2 separate regions of the Homo sapiens genome follow, and region 2 is linked to region 1. The links are contacts of gene promoters, found by promoter capture Hi-C in blood cells and fetal thymus (Javierre and others, 2016). All regions are on one chromosome and are shown on one strand. The core of a region is centred on a gene start or on the middle of the fragment in contact, and the rest is flanking DNA. Distances in the headings are between cores, read along the strand shown. Region 1 holds the start of METTL13 (methyltransferase 13, eEF1A N-terminus and K55). Region 2 holds the start of TMCO1 (transmembrane and coiled-coil domains 1).

Region 1 (5,072 bases), core at 1,826-4,325:
AATGGCAGATGAAAAGGAATAGGTCTCAACTCCAAGTAGGTTGCTAGAGAGCTATTACTCTCCTTTCATCATGCCTTGGGTAGTCTAATCCTCTGGAAGTACAAACCCCTGCAAGACAAAAAACAGTCCAGAATCCCACCAAAGCCCCAGCCCAGCCTCAGCCCCAGCCCCAGCCCAAGCCCCAGCCCCTGTAAGCCAGCCCCTCCAGGGAAGAGAGGGAGCAATCCCAACTCACTGATGAAAATCGCAAAATGATTGTCCCGCGATGGTTTCACAGTGGGGCTGTCCACCACGTGGAGGGTGTAGCGTGGCTCCCCCGTGTCCCCATCGCACAAGTCCAGAGACACACTCCCCAGCCTGGCCTTGCGGCGCAGCTGGCTGCACAGCCAGGCATACTGCTGTCGCTCCTGCACCGCCTCGGCCAGCCGCTCGGCACTCTCCAGCCGCACAGGCTTGCGCTGCTCCTGAGCACACAGCTCAAAGATCTGAAGGGCAGAGCCAGGGACTGGCCTGAACTTGGTCATGATGAAGGCAAAGACAGGCAAGGAGAACTGAGGCTCTGCTTCCAACACCTGGTCCTGGCTGTTGGCCACTTGGTGCACCCTCACCATCCACCCCTCCCGGGAGAAGTGGCCCACTGCTTTCTTCAGGATGTGAGCCTGAGCCAGGGAGATGCAGAGATAGCGACCGCCCACCTGCAGGACACGGCCAACCTCAGCCAGCATCCTGTCCACCTGTTGTAAGGTCTTCTCTTCCTCATCTGTCAGGACAGCATCCAGGGTGCCCTTGTCCAACACCACCTGGAACGAGGCATCAGGAAACTCCATCTGCGTCATGTCCATCTTCAAGAAGCTCATCTGGGGCCGTCGGGTGGCATTACATTCCTTCATTTGCTTGATGACAACCTCACTGATGTCGATGTTCACTATATCCCGATAGCCCACATCATACAGTTGCTCACTCAGTTCTGAGTTGCCACACCCAATCACCAGCACCTGGAGAAAAAATTCACAGACAAGAGGGAGGTAATCAAAGCAAAGGACTGTACTTCAGGTACTTCAAGGAATCAAGTCTCACCTTGGCTGAGTCACATTTTCAGAAGGTGGAGACGCTACTGCCAGAGAAAGAGCGACATTGTAGAGTTGATGCTAGACTCTATCTTGAAACACCACATATACTTGCTAGTGAAAACCACATTCAGCTACAATACAGGTTATATGAGAATGGGCTTTGTGTTGCAGAAACAAATTAATCATAACTGTTCTTTTCTCTAAATCATGCACTTATTACTCAGGAATTAATAGGAAGTCAGAGAATCCAAATATAGAGTTACAGTTGAAATCCTAGGCCAGGAATAACCCTATTTCCTCACTCTACTCATGCCTTTGGCTCCTTTAGACAATAAAGTACACTTTGTGAGGATTCAAATCTTACTTCCATCACGGATTCCATCTCATGATATTTGGCTATCTTCTGAAGCCGAACTTAAAATTCAGATTGTTGTCTCCCTCTCCAGGGAGCAATCTCCCATTCAAACTTAGAAATTCTGATATTGCCATCTTTGGAAAAGCATGGTACAAAGAGATGTGCATATGCTCTGGAGCCAGACAGGCCTGAGTTTAAATCCCCACATGACCACCTGGACATGATCTTGGGCAAAAAAAAAAAAAAAAGTGGCTCTCGGGGCCTCAGTTTCCTCATCTGTAAAATGTATGCATGGCCACTCACCTGAATTTATGATGAGAATTCAAAGATTGCACATGCACATACACAGCACCCAACATAAGGCTTGGCACATAAAGCTTCCCCACAAATGTTAAGTTTTCTACCTTCCTCCTTCCCTACCTCCAGTACAATCTCACCTATACCAAACCCATTGTTGTACTTATCACGTTTCACTTCTGGAACATGTGCAGGGTTTACGTCTTAATGCTCTTATAGTTTAAGGACTGAGCAGTGCCTGAAACTTGGGGCGCACTCAACGACTATTTGAAAAACAAATTCATACACAAAGTCACACCTGCTGCAGGTTGCACAGGAATGCACAGTGACAGAAGAACATACTTTCAAGATGGGAAGTCACTCTTCAAGTAGGGTTATTAATCCAAGAATGAGCTGGGGTGGGAGGTCTATTATCTGAAAACCTTTAAAGAAATGTTTTTTTTTTTAGACAGGGTCTCACTCTGTCACCCAGGCTGGAGTGCAGTGGCGTGATCATGGCTCACTGCAGCCTCGACCTCCTGGGCTCAAGCGATCCTCCCGCCTAAGCCTCCCGAGTAGCTGGAAATACAGATGCGCGCCACCACGCCCGGCTAATTTTTTCATTTTTTGTAGAGACGAGGTCTCATGTTCCCCAGGCTGGTCTTTAACTCCAGGGCTCAAGCGATCCTCCCACCTCGGTCTCCCAAAGTGTTCGGATTACAGGTGTGAGCCACTGCGCCCGGCCTGAAAGAATATTCTAGTTTGTCTTTTAGCAGGAACAATGCAGGAAATGCTGAAATATGCGTCCAACTAGGGTCCTCCCGCCTGTCACTGTCCACCAAGTGCAAGATTCCTGTTACCAGTTCCCACCTTCCGGAGCACGTACGAAGGGCTACCAACCCGCGCTCCTCACCTTTTCCCTGGGCTTGATATATTTATGTAGCACCCCGCACAGTTCCAGGTAGGTTCCATACCACTCGAAAGCTTTCTTTCCTCGCTGCTGGAAGAACTTCTCCCAATAGTCAACGGAGCCAAACTCCCTGGAACTTTTAGGTAAGAGGTTCATGTTCCTACTGCCGAAGCTGCGTTTTCAAGACTCCCCTATTCCCTGTGAGATACCATTTGAGGAGCTTGCCCACCACACGCAGGCTCCGGGACACTGCAGTGGGAATTCTTTCCACGGAAAAACAGCCACATTGATTTGTTCCCCCACTCCAAACCCCAGGAATGACCCTTACACGACAAACGCACGCATGGACCACTGAATCTCACACACGCTTGCCCCCTCCTCCGCGCCTGCTGTTCCTTCCCCACGTGAAGAGCCCCTCACACTTTTCCCGAACTAGATTTCCGAGCCCATAACCATATCCGGGTGCGAAGCCTCGTGATTCGTCGGCCGGCCCAGCCCAACTCAGCTAGTCATTGGTCGCTGCTTTGCGTTTCTATCACCTCATTGGCTGCGACGTGCTTGCCTTTCTCCGGAGGCTCCGTCGCAGACACCTAAACGCTTTTTTGACCTGAGGCCGGCCGACCATTCACGGAACGGGGCGGGACCGCGGGCCGGAGTTGTGGCGGAAGAGGCCGGGCCTCTGTGAGAACTAGGTCACGTCCGGGTGAGGAGTGAGCGCGGCTGTGCTGTGGTTGGGCCCTCCCTCCAGGCGGGGCGGAGAGCGCGCTTGCTTCCTGGGCTCGGCCTCCGCTTTGTCTTGGAGCCGGCTTAATCACTGACTCCGATCGTGCGCCGCACAAGGGCGGAGCGCGGCAGGCGGGAGCGTACTGGTAGAGGAGGACGAAAAGAAAAACCTATACAGATAGGAGAGAAGTGAGGCAGGAAATGAGTAAAGCCAGTCCGTCGTAAAAACGCTGCACATTCTAACCTTGTCAGCTTCTGCGCACCAGCACCCCCCGCCTTATTTTGCCACCTCTGCACCAAAATATAGGATTCTGCTATCAAAAGTGTAATAACATGAAAACTCCCTCTTCCTTCTCTCCGCAAAGCACAGCATGCAAAACTAGCCTTTCATTTTGATAATTGGCCTCCTTGTGTTATTCTGACGTTATTTATAACTGCTTATTTTATGTGTTTGATAAACATACTGTACTTTCACATGCTCATGCTAATACCCTGAGGAAGCTTCTGTGAAGGGCACTTTTTTTTCAGACAGGGTCTGTCTCTGTCGCCCAGACTGGAGTGCAGTGGTGCAGTCATGGCTCACTGCAGTCTCCACTTTCCAGGGGTCAGGGGATCCTCCCACCTCAGCCTCCCAAGTAGCACGCCACTACCGCTGGCTAATTTTTTTTTTTTTTTTGTAGAAATGGGGTTTCGCCATGTTGTCCGGGCTGTTCTCAAACTCCTGAGCTCAAATGATCATCTCGCCTCACCCTACCAAAGTGCTGGGATGACTGGTGTGAGCCACTATGCTGGCAGGCACTATTTGAAAATGACCAAATATGTGTATCACTGGGCCTTTCATACCATGATAAATTGCAGGAGGAATATACTGATTGCGGAGAGCAGATAGGCTTGGAATTGAGCATGTGTGCTGTGGGCTGTTACATACTACACTACCACAGGTAGATAGCCAGGTAGACTGTTAATAGTTAAGTAGGTTAGATTGGACTTAAACATTGGTTTAAAAAAGTGATTCTCAAACTGGCATGCGTCAGAATCACCTGGAGGACTTGTTAAAACACAGAATTCCCCAGTCCAACCCCTGTTCTAAGTCATTAGTTCAGTGGTGAGGCCCAAGGATTTGTGTTTCTAACAAGTTCCCACGATGCTGATGATGTTGGTCCCGGAACCACACTTTTTTGAGAACCACTGTTTTAAAATACAATTAAGTCAAAATGGATATGGTTCAAAATTCGCAATTTTCAATGATAAATCTAAAAGCTTTCTACAAGTAACATAAGAGAAAATCTGTTTTCATGATCCCTTTGCTGAGTTCACATTGTTCCTCTCTACCCAAGATAAAGAGAAGGAGTCCTTGAAGTAGTAACTTCAGCTACTACACCATGCAAGGTTCTGAATGGGTGAAATGTGAGTTCTTTAGGAAGCACTTATTGAGAGCGGAGGACATCACTTGTACTGAATGTGCTACACGATACCAAAGAAGCAAAACAGCATAGCAGCCAGGCGCGGTGGCTCACGCCTGTAATCCTACCACTTTGGTAGGCCGAGGCGGGCGGATCACTTGAGATCAGGAGTTTGAGATCAGCCTGGCCAACATGGTGAAACCATGTCTCTAATAAAAATACAAAAATTAGCCGAGCGTGGTTGTGTGTGCCTGTGGTCCCAGCTACTCAGGAGGCTGAGGCAGGAGAATCGCTTGAACCCGGGAGGCGGAGGTTGCAGTGAGCCAAGAGATTGC
Region 2 (5,154 bases), core at 2,421-4,920, 6.0 Mb after region 1:
ACCTCACGGTAATTCCTGAAGGTAGATATTTTTACTTATACTTTACAGATTTAAAACAATGAGGCTCAGATAAATTAAGTAACTTGCTAAAATAAGGTAGCTTACATGCAGTGGGGCTAAAATTGAAACGTAAAGTTCATATTGTTTCAAATGTCAGAGTGTAAGCAGGTATTTATAATTCTCTTATAATCTTTTACAATGCCTAGCTTAGTATTAAATGTGTATTTAAAGAACAGTATTGGGCTGGGCGCGGTGGCTCATGCCTGTAATCCCAGCACTTTGGGAGACCGAGGTGGGTGGATCACTTGAGGTCAGGAGATCAAGACCAGCCTGGCCAAAAAGGTGAAACGCTGTCTCTACTAAAAATACAAAAATTAGCTGGGCATGGTGGTGCATGCCTGTAAACCCAGGTACTCCGGAGGCTAAGGCAGGAGAATCGCTTGAACCCGGGAGGCAGAGGTTGCAGTGAACTAAAATTGTGCCACTGCACTCCAGCGTGGGCGACAGAGTGAGATTCCATCTCAAAAATAAATTAAATAAATAAATAAAAATGAAGCACAGTATTGGCTGGGCATGGTGGCTCATGCCTGTAATCCCAACACTTTGGGAGGCTGAAGCAGGAGGACTGCTTTGAGCCCTGGAGTTCGAGACCGAGCCTGGGCAACAAAGTGAGACCCTGTCTCTAGAAAACAAAACACAACCCCAAAGCAACAACAGTATTATTATTACTAATTCTACTAATAATGTAAGAACAGGCTTAGCTCCCATTCACCTTTCACAGAAAGTTACTTGAAGATGTACCACAACATCAAGTATAAACTAGAAACAAAAATGTGGTTTCAAGAGAATAGTAAAATTAAGTCCCAGGACAAAAGTCTTCCTATTGTACTAGAGATTGGAGGAGGTCAGTGAGCTTTGGGAGAGCAGTCCTCATGGGGAAAGCTTTGAAATCTAAAAATTAGATAGTACAACTAAGAGCTTAGAGAATTTGGGAATATAACAAAGAAAACTAGTAGAATCTAGAAAAGATGTTATCTGAACTTGTCTCTAGCACTGTTCCTTTTTTTTTTTTTTTTTTTTTTTTGAGACCGAGTCTTGCTCTGTCGCCCAGGCTGGAGTGCAGTGGCGCCATCTCGGCTCACTGCAAACTCCGCCTCCCAGGTTCGCGCCATTCTCCTGCCTCAGCCTCCCGAGTAGCTGGGACTACAGGCGCCCACCACCACGACCAGCTAATTTTTTTGTATTTTTAGTAGAGACGGGGTTTCACCGTGTTAACCAGGATGGTCTCAATCTCCTGACCTCGTGATCCGCCCGCCTCAGCCTCCCAAAGTGCTGGGATTGCAGGCGTGAGCCACCGCGCCTGACTTCTAGCACTGTTCTTAAACAAGGGGCATAGTGTCATGACATCATTACCCTAGAAAAGGAAGTGTATCCTAGCAGTCCATGGTTGTAAACATTTACACAGGAATAACTTAACTGCTTATTAATATATTTCATATTTTCTCATTTTTTCATATTTTAACATCTCTGAATGGGATTCTTCTTACAATCAATGGTGTGTCATGGTTTAATTAGTTATTTTTTCCTCTTTAGTAGTAGATAAAATAATGATGCGTCTTACAATGAATAGCATGTTGAATTTGATGAATTGTGTGTGCCAAGCACTGCTTGAAATGCTTTATAATATACTTTTCCTCATCCAGTCTTCATAGCTGATGTTACCACCATTTTGAAGGCTCAAAGATGCTAAACAATAGGTTCTAGGACTGCTGTCAAGTAAGTGGCAGAGCAAGAATTTAAAATCAGGTCTGATTTCCAAGATCATGCTCTTATTGTTATCTCAGCACTTACCTTGGGTGATACAAAGGTGAATAAAAACCTATCCTTGTCTGAACTGCTCAAATAAAGGTCTAGCTCAAATATGATCTTTCTGAAACCTTTCCAACTCCCCAGGAAGAATACATCTTGTTTTCATCTGTACCCCCTCAACATTTTAAGAATACCTCTATAATACCTATAATCTTATTATATTATATAATCTCCCTGGGCCCTTAGAAGTCAGGAATATTCTCTTAACCATCCTTTTGACCCTACAGTGCCTACCACAGTTCTTGACATATAGTAGAAGCTCAATAATGTTTCTTAAAAAGGAGACAGGGTCTCTGTTGCTAAGTCTGGGAGACAAGAAATGCACATAAAGCTAAAAAAAAGTCAAAAGTAGTGTTTAGGAGAATTATATATTTAAGTGCAGTACAGTTTAAAAGAACCAATGAGGGCCGGCCACGGTGGCTCACGCCTGTATTCCCAGCACTTTGGGAGGCCGAAGTGGGTGGATCTGAGGTCAGGAGTTCAAGACCAGCCTGGCCAACATGGCAAAACCCCGTCTCTACTAAAAATACAAAAAATTAGCTGGGCGTGGGGACGGGCACCTGTAGTCCCAGCTACTTGGGAGGCTGAGGCAGGAGAATGGCTTGAACCCGGAGGCAGAGGTTGCAGTGAGCCGAGATTGTGCCATTGCACTCCACCTGGGCAACAAGAGTGAAACTCCATCTCAAACAAACAAAAAAACACCAATGATAGGAGGAAGTACAAGAGGATACAGCTCAGCCAGCTTCCAGGTTTTCACCCATACACACACACACCCCAGTGTGAAAAAGCTGAAACCGTCTACAATGGCTGAAACCACGCTGCTGAGACATTTTTGAATTTTAATTAGTTAGCAACACTTATAAATTAAGTTTCACATAAAACCCAGGATTTCTGGATTTTCCTGAGAAACGAAGACATCTCAGAAACTGGGTGCTCATTCTCCTAGAGAAATGGGTTGGATTTGGGTATCAAATTCTCCTTTCAGATGAACTTAATGCTCACTTATCCATCGTAGTAACTTCCACCATTTGTTTAGGCTCAGCTTGCATAAGATAATTTATTTTCTCTCGCCAGTCTAGGCATCTGGGTTTAAGACCCCTTCTCTAGATACATTACTCACTGCACTATCACACTATGAATTTTCAGGCATCCGTGCTTTGACTTCCACTTTGCCTAGAAAGTCCTTTGCTATCTCCAAAAGTACTCCTACTCCCCTAAGGCACTGCTTCAATTCCTTTCATTAGCTTCTTCTGACCACTCTCTCAACCGTGTCACGCAGCACTGTGGTAATACCTCTATTAAAACCCTTATCAGAGCGTATGCACAAGCTTCTCCTCTTCGCGCTGACGTTCGCTCCTTGAGGCCAGCGGCCCACAACTAACTCATTTCGCGGTTCCAGCTTCACGTCCATGCCCTGGCACCTACACCCAGTCGTTCAGTACCTTTGCGGAAGTCAGTCTTCTTACTTCACGGCAAACCCAAGCTAAACTAATATTACGACCACAGAAGTTGGGCTGAGGTAGAAGTCAAGACTATCCCAATAACTGGATTCTGGCCGAGAAAAAGGCGCGCGCCAGCACCCCAGTCAGTAAAATCTACCGGGCAAAGTTCGCCGCCGCCACTATCCTCCTCTGGCTCTGAAATAGTTCCAATTCTCGCGAGATTCGGCCTGACTACCAGCCCTTCAGCTCCAGTGAGTTGCGGGTTGGTTTCCTCTAGACTCTCGTGGCCACACCGTTCTCCGATACGAGCCTTTCCGGTGCTATGCCCCGGAAGCGGAAGTGCGATCTTCGGGCTGTCAGAGTTGGTCTGTTACTCGGTGGTGGCGGAGTCTACGGAAGCCGTTTTCGCTTCACTTTTCCTGGCTGTAGAGCGCTTTCCCCCTGGCGGGTGAGAGTGCAGAGACGAAGGTGCGAGATGAGCACTATGTTCGCGGACACTCTCCTCATCGTTTTTATCTCTGTGTGCACGGCTCTGCTCGCAGAGGGTGAGAGCGGGTATTTCTCAGACGTTTGATCAGTCCCCGGGAGGAAGGGCCCCGGGGTCCCCTGTGCCACCAGGGGAAAGATCGCGAGCCTTACTTGCTTGAGAGGCTCATCTACTCCACTTCAGGGAATCTCTGGGCAACTCGTGAACAGGAGCAGGAGGGGAGTATGGAGTCGATTGCCGAGTTTTCTTTGGTCTCAGGTAGATTTCACTTGGGTATTTGTGGAGACACCTTCACATCATGTTACTGTTGTTTTGGCTGAAGAGTCAGTTGTATTAGCCTTTGAAAAAAGTTAACTATGGGTAAATACAAAGCGAAAAGTTGGAATTCCTCCTTCTCCAACAGTAACCACTTTGTTTGTTGTGATCATTCCAGTCATTTCTCTATTAACATGTTGCTTTTAATGTTTTAGGCATAACCTGGGTCCTGGTTTACAGGACAGACAAGTACAAGAGACTGAAGGCAGAAGTGGAAAAACAGAGTAAAAAATGTGAGTATGGCAACACATTAGAAATAATTTCAACACGTCAAGCTCATTAAGTCCATGTTCACAATAAATATTTTAAGAGCACCAGCTGATACAAAGATGAACCTGACTTGAAGCCTATTTAGAAATAGAAGACTTTTATGCAAAATGTGTAATACCAACTAGAGGGAAGTGAGGGGCGTAGCAGATACATGTTATGTGCTGTGGTGGTTCTAAAGAAGAGGTTCAATCTGGCGCAGTGGCTTACTCCTGTTAATCCCAGCACTTTGGAAGGCTGAGGCAGGACTGAACTTAGGGGTTTGACACCAGCCTGGGCAACATAGGGAGACCTCGTCCCTACAGAAAAAATTAGCTGGGTATGGTGGTACACACCTATAGTCCCAGCTATTTGGGAGACTGAGGCATGAGGATCCCTTGAGCCCAGGAGATTGAGGCTACAGTGGGCCACGATGGTGTCACTACACTGCCTCCTGGGCAATAGTGAGACTTGTCTTTAAAAAAAAAAGAAGAAGAGGCTTCATTCAGTTGTGAGGAACCATGGTAGCCTTCATGATGCTGATGGCCTTGCAGTTCCTTGTGGATAGTTAGAATTTGGATAGAGAATGAAATGGGGAAAGGAAATTCCAGGTAAAGAAATAACATATGAGCAAAAATATGGAAATCTTAACATTTAAGGCATGTTTGGAGGATGATATGTCATTATGACTGGTGTCAAGGTAAGTGGTGTCTTCAGAGATAAGCCGAGTTTCAGTTGGGTTAGAAAGTTGAAGAGGTGTTTAAGGAAAAGATTAAAAACAAGAAGGGTTTGTTA

Evidence for each region. The method cuts DNA at HindIII sites, captures the fragments that hold promoters and counts their contacts. A CHiCAGO score of 5 or more calls a contact.
Region 2: the fragment with the promoter of TMCO1 here is called in contact with the fragment with the promoter of METTL13 in region 1 in 2 of 17 cell types (total B cells and naive B cells); the score reaches 7.5 in total B cells.

What each region holds. Positions count from the first base shown.
Region 1 is chr1:171,779,663-171,784,734 of GRCh38, reverse strand. METTL13 (methyltransferase 13, eEF1A N-terminus and K55) reads right to left here and starts at 3,075. Exons shown (of 8, transcript NM_015935.5): 1 at 2,615-3,075; 2 at 236-995. The coding sequence starts at 2,767. RefSeq lists enhancers at 2,729-3,262, 3,092-3,386. The HindIII fragment of the contact is 1,150 bases long and covers 2,688-3,837 here.
Region 2 is chr1:165,767,384-165,772,537 of GRCh38, reverse strand. It overlaps TMCO1 (transmembrane and coiled-coil domains 1), which reads left to right and starts at 3,670. Exons shown (of 7, transcript NM_019026.6): 1 at 3,670-3,856; 2 at 4,269-4,346. The coding sequence starts at 3,787. TMCO1-AS1 (TMCO1 antisense RNA 1) reads right to left here and starts at 3,609. Exons shown (of 3, transcript NR_125374.1): 1 at 3,163-3,609. RefSeq lists enhancers at 2,707-3,382, 3,383-4,059. The HindIII fragment of the contact is 3,297 bases long and covers 3,200-5,154 here.